2 separate regions of the Homo sapiens genome follow, and region 1 is linked to region 2. The links are contacts of gene promoters, found by promoter capture Hi-C in blood cells and fetal thymus (Javierre and others, 2016). All regions are on one chromosome and are shown on one strand. The core of a region is centred on a gene start or on the middle of the fragment in contact, and the rest is flanking DNA. Distances in the headings are between cores, read along the strand shown.

The links. The method cuts DNA at HindIII sites, captures the fragments that hold promoters and counts their contacts. A CHiCAGO score of 5 or more calls a contact.
Region 1: a fragment that was not itself captured here is called in contact with the fragment with the promoter of DEPTOR in region 2 in 6 of 17 cell types (M1 macrophages, erythroblasts, M0 macrophages and 3 more); the score reaches 7.7 in M1 macrophages.

Annotation. Positions count from the first base shown.
Region 1 is chr8:120,112,401-120,115,100 of GRCh38, reverse strand. No RefSeq gene overlaps it. Among named protein-coding and RNA genes, the nearest start is that of COL14A1, 11 kb to the left of the region's middle. The HindIII fragment of the contact is 605 bases long and covers 965-1,569 here.
Region 2 is chr8:119,872,285-119,874,984 of GRCh38, reverse strand. It overlaps DEPTOR (DEP domain containing MTOR interacting protein), which reads right to left and starts at 1,263. Exons shown (of 9, transcript NM_022783.4): 1 at 1,017-1,263. The coding sequence starts at 1,138. RefSeq lists enhancers at 526-575, 666-765, 400-900, 966-1,225, 901-1,401 and 1 more and a silencer at 1,245-1,417. The HindIII fragment of the contact is 2,864 bases long and covers 1-2,613 here.

The DNA of each region.
Region 1 (2,700 bases), core at 18-2,517, 240 kb before region 2:
AATATCCTTAACACTATGCTGATCTATTTTCCCATTCACATTCTTTTAATCAACTTAATTTCATGTTGCCTATTTTTTCTCTTTTAAGGAAAATTACTTGACTATTCTGAAGAAGCCACAATAATAACACACACCCCCAAAAAACAGTAAAAACTGATGACAAGGATGAAGCATTGTTACCTGTTACCTGTTGCCTATTGGTCAAGCCAATATGTTGCTAAAGGAAAAGAAAGAAGTGGTGATTGCATTGTACATCGAGCCTAAAGCTACGTCTCAGATTATTTCCTGCTATTCAGGCTGTTGCTTCCATATACAGCATAGTCCATAGATTCACCAAGGCTAGCCTCAGGCCTCTGGTGAGACTTCCTCCAAGAACCTACACCCCAGAAAAAAATTTTGGATAACATATAACCACCAAGATATATCCACTGAGACTACAAAGAAATTTAAAATATTAATAGGAGCAAAACTTTAAACCAAAGGAAAGACATCCTAAGGCAGCATTTCAAGAATCAGCCTTGGGAAGATTGAAGAGGGCCAGAAAGTCCTCTCTGAGGACATTTTAGATTTTCCAGAGAAATGAGAAGCACACAGAGCTAGAAATAAAGAGAAAACCACAGAGATCTCTTCTTTTAGAGAATTGAGAGAGCAGAGAGACAGAGAACGCATGAGATAGAAAATCTCATATGGGTCTAGGTTTTGGAAAATTCTGTTCATTATGCTGTGGTGAAGTGTTCTGCGAAATTTGTTATTTGTTTTGTTTTCAGCTGTTATTCATGTAAGTTGTGGTTCAAGTTAGTATCTCTTCTGATCTGTGCCCTTTGACGTGTTAATTAATTGATGAAACTTTTGTTCTCAAACTTTTTACTATTTCAATCCAAAACCTTCAGATTTGTCTGAAAATTCACCATGGGCCACTAGACTGAGAATTTCTCTACCCTGTAATAGCCTCAGTACAGAAGCTTAGAGGAAACCAAGCTGAGCACTGAAATCAGTTGGCAGTGCCCTGCTCCCTCTGTGACTGTATTCACTTAAAGTTGTCCAGATTATGTTCTCAGGATCAATGACCATTTTATCTGTGTCCCTAGCACCTGGCTTAGCATATATTATCAATCCAAAACATGTTCTCTGAATGAATGAACAAAAGCAAGAATGAATGAGCAAACCACCATATTCCAGCAGAGCACCATGATGGTTTCGAGCTTGTGTTCGTCTCCAGGCTTTGCCCTCATGAGTTGGGTGACATTAACTAAGTTATTCAAGATATGCCTTCTCATTAACTTATGCCACAGATATTACTGCTGGGCTCTGAGTATGCATGGGGTGAGCAAAACAAGTCCGTTGGCCTTGTGGAGTCTAGAGTCCAGCTACACAAACACACACTGACAAAACATGAAGTGCTCTGATGGTAGCGGGCTGAGGGGCAAGAGTGCAGGTATTATGCAACTTATTCAGGTAGAATGATCAAGAAGTACATAGGTGAGGAGGTGACCTTTAGGCTGACAAAAAGAGAGACAGCCAGCCTTGAGAAGATATGAAACAAAAGCATTCTGAAAAGAAAGAAAAGCTTTTATTAAGTCCTTGGGTTTTCAACCAAACAATTGAAAAAAAGAACAAGAAAACAAAGTCATCGGGCAAGAGAGAGCTTGCATAGGCCCAAATTATTTTGAATGAGCAGAGTTTGGTGAAATCAGAGGAGAGACTTAAGACCAGGTGGAGTGGCTCAGAGCCTTTGTAATCCCAAGACTTTGGGAGGATCACTTGAGCCCAGGAGTTGGGAACCAGCCTGGGAATAAGACCTTATCTCTACAAAATAATAATAATAATAATAATAATAATAATAATTAAAAATTAGCCAGGCATGATGACACGTGCCTATAGTCCTAGGTACTCTGGAGGCTGAGATGGGAGGATCGCTTGAGCCTGGGAGGCACAGGTTGCAGTGAGCCCAGATCACGCCACCACAGTCCAGCCTGGGTGACAGAGCAAGACCCTGTCTCTAAATAAATAAATAAATAAATAAATAAATAAATAAATAAAGATGGGTGATGTGAGACACAAGAGGTGAACAAGGATCAGACCTTGGACAACCTTGTATGCCAAGGTAAGTATTTTGACTATATCTTGGCAATGGAAAGTTTTAAGTAAATGAGGGAAATGAGCAACCCAGAGTGTCTTATTTAGCTGACCAGGAGCAGGGGCAGACATGGGTATTTTATCAGAATCTTCTCAGTGATTCTAGCACACAGCCAAGGTTGAGATCAACAGTCTGTATATTCCTGCAGGAGCAAACCCACTTTACTTACATCCTTCACCTGCTCTGATCCTCCCAGTGGTGGCTCCTTTAAACAGAATAAGGTGTAAATATATTAGCTTAGTAATCAAGTTCCTCCGTGTCTGCCTTAGCCTAACTTTCCTATCTTATGTCCACTCAACCTCCTGGACAAACTTTATAATGTAGATTAAGGATGTGAGTTCTGAAGTCAGAGCCAGACATGTTACTTTATCCACATTGTAGCATGGTAGTTATAGTTACCTCTTATCGTGTTTAGGAGATTTAATTTTATAATATCTGGAAGGCTCTTCACCTATTACTTAGTAAGCACTTCCTAAAAGTTTGCTCTTGTATTATTCCCTGACACCCAAATAGAATTTTCCTAATTCTGCCCTTTTTCTGATGTTAAACCATATGAACACTTT
Region 2 (2,700 bases), core at 14-2,513:
ACAGACATTTAGAAACCAAAACAAGCTGGGGAATTCAGGCTAAGAACTAGAAGTAACAGGGGCCCGCGTACAAGTTGTGGCTCAAACGCTGCAGAGCTGGGTTTTCTTTTTCCTGGCAAACTGATTTATAACCACACGAAGGGCAGCTGCAGAACCAGTTAGACCATAAGTACTATTCCCAAACAGCCCTAGAGGAAGGACCATACAGGGATGGGAATGGCAAGGGGGATTCTGGGGGTCGTCCTTGTTCCCAAGTTCCGTGAGACGCCGCAAGTCTTAATTCTTGCAGGAGCCAGGGTCCCCATGGATCCTGCTGCCCAAAACGTGCGAGCCCGGGGAGTTGGCACAGCCTCAAGGCAGCCCGACAAGGTGCCTCCACGCCCCCTTGCGGACCCAAATGATTGAGGACGATGTGCCAATTAACTGATAGGTGCAGGGTTTCAGAAATGCTCTCTCAGTTTAACCTCACAAAAAGCCCTTGAATCAGCCCTGTTTTACAGATGTAAAACACCGAGGCTCAGGGGAGTGAAGGAAGACTTGTCAGCAAAAAGGAAAACCTAGTGAAGACTATCGTTGGTCTTGCTCCTTTTATCAAGGAGTAGAGGGGCTGGGGTCGCCTCGGGACCCCACAGCGACCCCTCTTGCTCTCTTCGCGGATGAGGCGCAGGCTGTCAGCCGGGAGGCCTGGCGGCGTCCAGGTACACGGGAAGACGGACAGCGCGGTGGGTGGCAGGGACTTTGCCCGGCACAGGACTGCAGCAGCCAGGCTAGGGCGCAGCGCGCACCACCCGCTCGTCGGCTTCTGCCAGGCAGCCCCGCTTGGCGAGCGAGTCCTCAGGGACCGAGGCTGCAGCAGCTAAGCGCGGGCGCACCGAGGACCATCCACGCGCCCGCAGCCGTTCCGGCGCCCCACGCGAGTCGCAAGCCACGAGCCAGGGAGCGCGTGCGCGCAGGACTGCAGCGGGCACGCGTTGGCAGTGCCATCGTGAGCTCACCCGCTGTGTCTCTTGCCTTACCGTAGCTGTTCCCCGGTGACCAAGACCTCAGCCATGCGCTCCAGCTCCCTTTGCTGCGCCCCGCCACTCCCGCTGGTGCTGCTGTCACTGCCAGCACTGCCAGTGCTGCCGCCCTCCTCCATGGTTTTAGGGCCGTGCGGCTACCACTGGCTCCGCTGTCCGCCGAGGGTTTGGGTGCTCGGATCAGTCTGCCCTCACAGACGCTTCCCGCGCCATCTTTGTTCGGGGCAGCTCCGCTGCTCTGACTGGATTGGCTGGAGAGGGAATCCCTATGGGTAGGCAGACGCGCTGGGCTAGTCCGGCCCCAGAAACTTGAGCTTGGGGGCGTGGCTAGAGCCCCTCATGGTCGGGGGGCGGGGCCGATGGAGGAAAATATAAACATCTGGGCGGGGCGCTGCTACTGAGCTGTGTGTGCTGCTGGAGGCTGAATTTGGTGAGCTCTCTTTACCCACAAAGCTCATGCTGTAGAATCCTGGGGACAGGCCTGGAGGTTATTAGTGTGAAGGCGTTTTTATTGTACGTTCCACACCCCAAGTTGCCAGAGAGCAAAACATAATTCAACAATCTGGCCAAATGGTCAACAGTGAAGGTTATACATGTCATTGAAGGGCATGGAGAAATTAAACATTCTTCTCTCCCCAACCTCTCTCTCCAAAGACGACTTGTTTGCCTTATGTTGTAATCAATAAGGAACGCCGGCCTAGGAATCAGGCTGACCTGGGATCCAGCTCCGCTCCTGTGATGTCCTATTTAAATGTGTTTAATCCTCCCTTACAAAATAAAAATAATTGCGGCTACCACTTTTGACATCTGCTGCATTAAAGATACTTCAGGTATGGTATTACCTCGTTTAATTATTACAATAATTCATAAAATAGGTATTGGTGTTCGTTTTGCATTAGAATGCAGGCTTGGAGAGGTGAAGTTACTTGTCTAAGGCAAGCAAATAATAAGTATAAGAAGAGCCGGGCACCGTGGCTCATGCCTGTAATCCCAGCACTTTGGGAGGCCGAGGCGGGCAGATCACCTGAGGTCAGGAGTTCCAGACCAGCCTGACCAACATGAAGAAACCCCGTCTCTACTAAAAATACAAAATTAGCCGGGCGTGGTGGTGCATGCCTGTAATCCTAGCTACTTCGGAGGCTGAGGCAGGAGAATCGCTCGAACCCGGGAGGCGGAGGTTGCTGTAAGCCGAGTTCGGGTGAGCGGAGTTAGTGCCATTGCATTCCAGCCTGGGCAACAAGAGCGAGACTCCGTCTCAAATCATCATAATAATAATAAGAAGAAATCTAACCGAGGCAATTCTGGCTTCAAAGTTATGCTTTGAAAAGACTGAAAGACTGCCTCTTAAAATGGGGATACAATGGTATTGTCTATCCGTAAAAGATTATGAAAAGAAATTTGATTAGTACCAAATAAATGTTCTGATTTTCTGTTTCATGCAGAGTCGGAGTTGGTCTGCAGGAAGGCGAAGTAATGTTTATGGCAGTATTCATGTGTGTTGAGCATTTATTCTGTGCTTTACATTGTGCCAAACACTTTATCCTCACAAAACCCTGGAGTTTGGTATTATTTTCAACTTACAAATGAGAAAGCTTAAGTATAGAAAGATGAAGTAATCTGCCTAGAAAGTTAGGTAGCCCTTAAACCCTGGCCATACTCAGCCCCACTCCAGAAAGAGAAT